3 separate regions of the Homo sapiens genome follow, and all the other regions are linked to region 3. The links are contacts of gene promoters, found by promoter capture Hi-C in human tissues and cell types (Jung and others, 2019). All regions are on one chromosome and are shown on one strand. The core of a region is centred on a gene start or on the middle of the fragment in contact, and the rest is flanking DNA. Distances in the headings are between cores, read along the strand shown.

What was found. The method cuts DNA at HindIII sites, captures the fragments that hold promoters and counts their contacts. A contact is called where the count stands out against the background at its distance.
Region 1: a fragment that was not itself captured here is called in contact with the fragment with the promoter of SOX13 in region 3 in 1 of the 25 tissues and cell types used here (dorsolateral prefrontal cortex).
Region 2: a contact is called between a fragment that was not itself captured here and the fragment with the promoter of SOX13 in region 3, in 1 of the 25 tissues and cell types used here (IMR-90 fibroblasts).

What each region holds. Positions count from the first base shown.
Region 1 is chr1:203,847,149-203,849,998 of GRCh38, reverse strand. ZBED6 (zinc finger BED-type containing 6) reads right to left here. Exons shown (of 17, transcript NM_001395895.1): 12 at 2,312-2,815; 13 at 1,592-1,668; 14 at 1-288. ZC3H11A (zinc finger CCCH-type containing 11A) reads right to left here. Exons shown (of 18, transcript NM_001376342.1): 13 at 2,312-2,815; 14 at 1,592-1,668; 15 at 1-288. Among named protein-coding and RNA genes, the nearest start is that of SNRPE, 13 kb to the left of the region's middle. The HindIII fragment of the contact is 5,303 bases long and covers 1-2,850 here.
Region 2 is chr1:203,926,440-203,929,456 of GRCh38, reverse strand. No RefSeq gene overlaps it. Among named protein-coding and RNA genes, the nearest start is that of SNRPE, 66 kb to the right of the region's middle. The HindIII fragment of the contact is 9,626 bases long and covers 1-3,017 here.
Region 3 is chr1:204,071,705-204,074,466 of GRCh38, reverse strand. SOX13 (SRY-box transcription factor 13) reads right to left here and starts at 1,352. Exons shown (of 14, transcript NM_005686.3): 1 at 756-1,352. RefSeq lists an enhancer at 1-673. The HindIII fragment of the contact is 26,498 bases long and covers 1-2,762 here.

The sequences.
Region 1 (2,850 bases), core at 288-2,787, 220 kb after region 3:
TGCACATTTCACATTCAATAATGAGTCTCCAATCCCTGAGGTTTCTACCTCCACCTTCTGGGATGACTTTGTGGGAAGCCGCTTGGTCAGGTGCCGTGTGATTCCTGGCACAGCAGTGAGCACTGGTTTCTCTGCCACTTGGGTATTGCAAGAGGCTACATCTCCCCGAAGAGGTGTCAAGACTGATTTTTCCCTCTCCTGCTGTTTCTGCATGTGCTTCTCTCTCATGGTCTCACATCTCTTGACTTGAATTTTAGTGATGTCAACTCCTGTGGTCTCACCTGAAGCCTGTGGATAAATTTGAATGACAGAATTAAAATCTGGTACCTCTAATAACCTGTATGATGTAAGTACCAGGCTAACATCTAAGTTAAGCAGAATCTCACATGATCCAGAATCTGAGAGAAAAGCTCTTTATTTGATGTTAAATAGACAATACCCTGTTAAAGATGAAAGATTAGAATTACAGATGTATGGAATAATAAAAAACCCAGATTCCACAGGCTAGACAACCATGACTCTAAGTCAAATACTAATGATTCCTAAATAATCAAATACCTGCACAAAGATTTATGTACAAATATATTACTTTAAATTGTGTAAAACAAAATCTGAATGTCCAGAAAAAGACTGTATTTGTATAATGGAGAATCATGTGGTCAGTAAAAACAAACTTCTTGAAGAATTATTAACATGGTAAAGTTAAAGCAGGCTGTAAAATGATACACTGTAGAGTTCTCCATTATGTTCTAAACATGGGTTTAACATTAAACAAATTCACATGCATGCATATATAAACAAAAAGGTCGAAGAAGGCCAAGTGTGGTGGCTCACACATGTAATCCCAACACGTTGGGAGGCCAAGGCAGGCAGATCACTTGAAGCCAGAAGTTCGAGACCACTCTGGACAACATGGAGAAACTCTGTCTCTACTAAAAATACAAAAATTAGTCAGGCTTGGTGGTGCATGCCTTTGATCCCAGCTACATGGGAGGCTGAGGCACAAGAATCGCTTGAACCCAGGAGGCAAAGGTTGCAGTGAACCGAGATCATGCCACTGCACTCCAGCCTGGGCAACAGAGCAAGACTGAAAAAGCTCGAAGAAATCCATGGAAAAGATAATGATGGTTACATCTGAGCTGTATATTTTTAGGGTTTGTTCAGTTTTAAAAAAAATAAAATTTCCAACTTTTGTATGATGCATAGCATTAGAAAAAACTCAGTTAAAAAAAAGTAATGGCCAATTAAACAAAAAACTTTATTTTTTGTATTTTTAGTAGAGACGGGGTTTCACCGTGTTAGCCAGGACGGTCTCAATCTCCTGACCTCGTGATCCGCCCGCCTCAGCCTCCCAAAGTGCTGGGATTACAGGCGTGAGCCACCGCGCCCGGCAAACAAAAAACTTTAAAAGGGCAGCGAATACTGATATACATAGAACTACAGGAAATTCTCATAAGAAATTATAAGTAAAAAGAAAGACTGTTTACCTAATATATGAATGAAGTACTTAGAAATTTATTGTAAGGTAAAACTACCAATTATCTAGCCTTTGTTTGCCATGAACAAAACCATACAATAATCTTAAATTTACCTCTTTAGCTTCTGTTCTAATACTGCTCTGAGAATCAACTTCATTTCCTTCCTGAAGGTTCTTCTCTTCTTTCATCCCTGTATTCACATTAAAGACATCATTAGTTATTTTATTTAAGCTGCAACTTCATGATAGATATGTTAAACAAAACTTTATTTAATGAAAGTAGTAAGACAGGACAAATAAAATTACAGATAAAGCCCATCTGTGCTCCTAAAGTCTCAAAATACACATTAAAATAGCAAAGGTTGGCCGGGCATGGTGGCTCACACCTGTAACCCCAGCACTTTGGGAGACTGAAGCAAGCAGATCACACTTGAGGTGAGGAGTTTGAGACCAGCCTGGCCAACATGCTGAAACCCCATCTCTATTAAAAATACAAAAATTAGCGGGGTGTGGTGGCACATGTCTGTAGCCCCAGCTACTTGGGAGGCTGAGGCAGGAGAATCACTTGAACCTAGGAGGTGGAGGCTACAGTGAGCCAAGGTCATGCCACTGCACTGCAGCCTGGGTGACAGAGTGAGACTCTGTCTCAAAAATAAAATAAAACAAAATAGCATAGGTCTACATAGCACTACTGAAAAACTTCATTTAATTCAGTGTTTTCAACGTTATCTGAGTAAAGAAAGGTTGTCAAACAACTCCTAGGAAGATCCCACGGAACACTCCTCTGGAATATTATGTGGGGACGTGGTACTAGAGACCAAGTTCTCTTGTTACCTGTTCTTTTGGTGATTCGCAGCAGCCGCCTTGCCCCTGGAGTGGCCTCGTGTTGAGACGGGGAGCTGGTGCTGCTCTCAGAGCTCTGCTGCACCCTCAGTGCCTTCTCCAGTTTAATTTCTTCCAGCGTCTTGATGTGCACCTCCTGCATAGACTTTGTTTTACCTGCAGGCTCCTCTGATTGTCCTCTGCTGGCAACAATGGGTGGCAAAACTACTGTTTTTTTAATTTCACTATCAATCTTTAGCTTGATGCAAGTTGTATCCTTTTTGCTTTTTTGTCTCTCTGCTTCCTGCTGCCGATGTTTTTTTTCAGCCAGGACCTCAGAGAAGGTTTTGATACGGATAGTGGAGGAGCTTCTTGCTCCTGAAGTAGAATCATCAGTTTTTGAAGGTCCTTCTGTCTTGAGTTTAGTTTGCAATTCTCCACGTTTCTGACTGGCTCTTTCAAGAAGAATTTCTTCTAATGTCTTCACATGGATCTCACCAACTTTATTAACTTTATCTGTTTTCACAGGAGAAAAACATGTCATTATACTT
Region 2 (3,017 bases), core at 277-2,776, 150 kb after region 3:
AAATCCCATCTCTACTAAAAATACAAAAATTAGCGAGGCGTGGTGGCGGGCACCTGTAATCCCAGCTACTCGGGAGGCTGAGGCAGGAGAATCACTTGAACCCAGGAGGCAGAGGTTGCAGTGAGCTGAGATGGTGCCATTGCACTCCAGCCTGAGTAAATAAATAAATAAAAATAAAATAAATAAATAAAATAAAATTGCACTCCTCTCTCCTGCCAGTTCACCTCTATTTTTCTTTGCTAACATCTGAACCATTCCTCCTTATTTTTTTTCTTCAACTGCATATGTGTATGCATTTGTTTGTCTGTCTCCACCACTAGGATGTAAGCTCCCTGAGAGTAGGGACTTTGTCCATTTGCTTTCTGCCATATCCCCAGTGCCTAAAAGAGTACATAGTACCTAGTGAGCACTCTGTAAATATACATTAGGTAGATGTATTCACCAAATAAATTTCATTTCTGTTTAAATCTGCCATAGTTGATTTCTGTTTCTTGCAACTTAACATGCTAAGAACCTTATCTGAGAGACATGTAAGACACTGGGAATCAAATTTTTCTCTCATTTAGTGACTTTGGGCAAAGTCACTTAGCACTCTGGGTCTCAGTTTCTTTATATATTGCCCCTCTTTGCTATAAGATAATTTTACAATTTTTTACAATGCCATATGTCTTTTTTTTTTTTTTTTTTGAGACAGAGTCTCACTCTGTCACCCAGGCTCGAGTGCAGTGGCATGATTTCAGCTCACTGCAAACTTCCCCTCCCAGATTCAAGCAATTCTCCTGCCTCAGCCTCCCAAATAGCTGGGACTACAGGCATGCACCACCACGCCCAGCTAATTTTTGTATTTTTACTAGAGATGGGGTTTCACCATGTTGGCCAGGTGGGTCTCAAACTCCTGACCTCAAGTGATCCTCCCACCTTGGCCTTCCAAAGTGCTAGGATTATAGGTGTGAGCCACTGCACCTGGCCAAAATGTCATATTTCAAAGCCACAATAGAATAATGGTTTTTCCAAAGTATATACAGTCATATAATGACATTTTGGTAATGACAGACCCCATGTACCATGGTGGTTCCATAAGATTAGAACGGAGCTGAAAAATCCCTATCACCTAGTGACATGGTGGCCCTCATCACATTGTAGCCGTTGTCATAGCACAATGCATTACTCTTATGTCTGTGGTAACGCTGGGCTAAACCAATCTATTGTGCTGCCAGTCATAGCACATACAATTATGTACAGTACATAATATGTTTTATTTTGTCTTATTATTTTCAAATATTTAGGGGTGCATGTACAGTTGTTTTACATAGATATATTGTATAGCGGGGAAATCTGGGCTTTTAGTGTACCCATCCCACAAACAGTATACATTGTGCACAATAGGTAGGATTTTATCCCTCACCCCCCTCCCATTTTCTACCTTATGGAGTCTCCAATATCTGTTATTCCGCTGTCTATATCTCTATGTAGCCATTGTTTAGCTCTCACCTATAAGTGAGAATACGTAATACTGATAATAAAAAAAACTTGATATTGATAAATAAGTATGTTACTGGTTTATGTACATACTATACTATACTTTTTATTGTTATTTTAGAATGTACCCCTTCTATTTATATATTTAAAAAGTTAACTGTAAAACAGTCTCAGGCAGGTCCTTCAGGAGGAATTCCAGAAGGAGGCATTGGTATCATTGGAGGTGACAGCTCCAGGCATATTGTGGCAACTGGAGACCTTCCAGGAGGACAAGATGTGGAAGGGAAGACAGTGATACAAATGACCCCGATCCTGTGTAGGCCTAGGCCAATATGTGTGCTTCTGTCTTCATTGTTAACAAAAATGTTTAAAAAGAAAACATTTAAATAGAAAAAAGCATATAGAATAAAGATATAAAGAAGAAATTTTTCGTGTAGGTGTATAATATGTTTGTGTTTTAAGTAAAGTGTTAATATGAAAGAGTCAAAAAGTAAAAAAAAAAAAAAAAGAAAAGGAAATTTTCAGGCTGGGTGTGGTGGTTCATGCCTATAATCCCAGCACTTTGGGAGGCCAAGGCAGGCAGATCGCTTGAGCTTAGGAGTTCAAGACCAGCCTGGGCAACATGGTGAAACCCTGTCTCTACAAAAAAATACAAAAATTAGCTGGGCATGGTGGTGCATGCCTATAGTCCCAGCTACTAGGAAGGCTGAGGTGGGAGGATCACATGAAACTGGGAGGCTACAGTGACCTGAGATAGCGCCACTGCACTCCAGCCTGGGGGACAAAGTGGAACCCTGTGTCAGAAAAATAATAATAATAATAATTTTATAAAGTAAAAAAGTTATAGTAGGTTAAGGTTAATTTATTATTGAAGAAAGAAAAATTTTAAATACATTTAGTGTAGACTAAGTGTGCAGTGTTTATTTTTATTTATTTATTTTTTTGAGACAGAGTCTCCCTCTGTCACTCTCTCTGTCTGGCTAGAGTGCAGTGGCATGATCTCGGCTCACTGTAGCCTCCACCGACCGAGTTCAAGCGATTCTCATGCCTCAGCCTTCCAAGTAGCTGGGACTACAGGTATGAGCCACCACACCCGGCTAAGTTTTGTATTTTTAGTAGCGATAAGGTCTCACCATGTTGGCCAGGCTGGTCTCGAACTCCTGACCTCAGGTGATCCACCTGCCTCAGCCTCCCAAAGTGCTGGGATTACAGGCGTGAGCCACCATGCCCAGCCTAGTGTGCAGTGTTTACAAAGTCTACAGCAGTGTACAGTAATGTCCTAGGCCTTCACATTCACTCACCACTCACTCACTCACTGACTCACCCAGAGCAACTTCCAATCCTGCAAGCTCCATTCTTGGTAAGTGCCCTATACGATTTTTAATCTTTTATACTATGTTTTTACTGTACTTTCCTATGTTTAGATACATTTAAATACACAAATACATACCATCCTATTACAACTGCCTACAGTATTCTGTAGGTTTGTATCTTAGGAGCAATAAACTATATCACACAGCCTAGATGTGTAGTAGGCC
Region 3 (2,762 bases), core at 103-2,602:
AACGACTACCCGCTCCGCATCTCCCTACCCCTAGGCGCGATCAGCGTTTGCAGCGGAATCGGGATGAAAAGGCTCACCTACGATATCCCAGGGCGGGAGGTGGGGGTAGCAAGAAGCAGCCTGCGGTGGGGGTGGGGGTGGGACAGGAGCAGCCGGAGCAGAAAACAAACAGGATGCCGCGCTGGTCTGGTCCGCTGGGGAACGACCCTGAAACCGTGGCAAGGGGAGCGCGTCTGTCCCCCAGCACCCCACGCAACCATGGTGGAGGAGCTCTGCGCCTCGTCGCAGGCACCTGAGCCCCACGCAGGACGCGCGCAGGTCGCTTCGGCTTCCCGCTGAGAAATCCTTAAACTAGGCGCATAGTCGGGCTGATGAGAAAGACCTAGTCCTCTGCGGTCGGCGAGGAGCGGGTTGGGGGTGCACCCTAAGCTCGACCCGCGTGGTGAACGCGCGCGCGCGCGCGCGTACACACACACACACACACACACACAAACACACACACAGCCACGCACTGCCTTAGAGGCTGCCATCCCTCTCCACAAGGACCCAAGTCGGCCAGGGAGGAGCCGCCACTGCCCAGCGTTGTTGGGGGTAGGTGAGGGTCCGTCTCTCCTCGAAAAACTTTGCACAGGGTGGAAACTCGCAGGGAAGAGAGCCGGTGGGTGCCCAGAAACGTAGGGGCGCAAGTGTCAAACTTCAGAGAGCTGGGGAAATGGGCGCGACGGCGCGATCATGGCGGGGAGGGGTGCACTTACTACTCAGCCAGGCGCCGGGCTCGGGGCTCGGGGCTCGCGGCTCCGCGCTCCTGCTCCTCCTCCGTGCGGTCCTCGCGGCTGGCAGCCTAGGCTTCCCGCTCACATGCCCCCGCGACGCGGCGGGCGGGCCGGGTTGGGGAGGCTGGGCTGGGAGGGGGCACGCCCCCCGCCGTCGGCCGGGGAGTCGCTGCGGACCCACGGCCACCCTGGGTCCGCGCCCCACGGGGCCCGCCGTCCCGGGCGGCGAGCTTGGTTCCGGCCGGGCGGCGCCCTCTCCGCCGAGCCAGGCCGCTCTCTGCCCTCTGCCCTCTGCCCTGGGCTTGCGGCCGTCTCCCTGCCTTCCGCGGTCCTGCTCTGCGACTCGTCGGACGCGCAGCCGGCCCGCCCTCCCTGCTCTTCGGCTCTCACGCTCTCCGGCTCCAACCTCAGCGCCTCGGCTCGATTCCGAGTCAGGGCCTACGAGGCTGACCGCTGAGCTCTGGGCTCAGACCTGGGCTCGCCGGTTCTGGGCCCGGGTTCCAGGACCCGTGCTCACACAGTTCAGTTCCAAGCCGGGACTGGAGAAGGGCGCTCGCGGCTCGCTGCTGCGAGGCGACTGGACAGCCTAGAGGAGAAAGAGGGAGGGAGACCGAGAGCGCGCAGGGGGAGGAGGGAGGGAGGGTGGGGACTTGCAGAAGAAGGGAGGGACAGAGAGTTTCCTCCTCCTCCCTGCAGCCGGGTCCATCCAGGCATCAACAGCTGGAAACCTCTGTTGGAAAGGGGAAAGCTAAGGTTTACGGGCGGCGGGGAAGGGTGGGGGTGGAGTGAGGGGGTGTAGAGAAGAGAAGAAAGAAGGATTCTGCCCGCTCCCACTGCCCAGGTATGAGGGTCGCTACAGAGAATCTTCACTCCTTAAAGCAAGACCTAAGAAGTTATTGGTCCAGCTCCAAGCCTCCCAACCCCTCCAAACAGATAGCCTGGACTCGGGTTTTTTAAAAACCCCATTTCTCCGGACTTCCCTTAAGAACCTGATCTCTGCCGGGCGCGGTGGCTCACGCCTGTAATCCCAGCACTTTGGGAGGCCGACGGGGGCGGATCACGAGGTCAGGAGATGGAGACAATCCTGGCTAACACGGTGAAACCCCGTCTCTACTAAAAATACAAAAAATTAGCCGGGCGTGGTGGCGCGCCTGTAACCCCCTACTCGGGAGGCTGAGGCAGGAGAATCGCTTGAACCCGGGAGTGGGAGGTTGCAGTGGGCCGAGATCGCGCCATTGCACTCACTCCTGCCTGGGCGACAGGGCGAGACTCCGTCTCAAAAAAAACAAAACCTGATCTCACCTGTAGCTAGACGGATTCCTGATATCTCCAACCACTCCCTAATCCTGTCATTTGCAGCCTCTCAAATAAATCTTATTTTCTCCTGTCCCATTATATGGGAGGGTGGGGGAGAATGGAGAGTTGGTTTCCTTTCATTCAACGTATTTATCAAATGTCTACATATGACCGGGCGCAGTGGCTCACGCCTGTAATCCCAGCACTTTGGGAGGCCAAGGCAGCAGATCACCTGAGGTTGGGAGTTCGAGACCAGCCTGGCCAACATGGTGAAAACCCCTCTCTACTAAAAATACAAAAATTAGCCGGGTGTGGTGGTGCATGCCTGTAATTCCAACTACTCAAGAGGCTGAGGCAGAAGAATTGCTTGAACCCAGGAGGCAGAGGTTGCAGTGAGTGGAGATCGCACCACTGCACTCTAGCCTGGGTGACAGAGTAAGACTCTGTCTCAAAAAAAAAAAAAAAAAAAAGTCTACCTATGCCTGGCTTACCGGGGTGCTGGGGACACGAAGACAAATGAGACGGTGTCCTGCCCTTTCTGGATTCTGATTTTGTAAAGGAATGGGTGAATATACCATTGCAGTGAAGTGGAGAGGGCTAAGATAGGGCAGGCAAATGGGCACAGGGCCACCAAAGACACTGGGATATGGGGACTGGAACTTCTTGGGGGAGGTGGCATCTGAAATGGGTCTT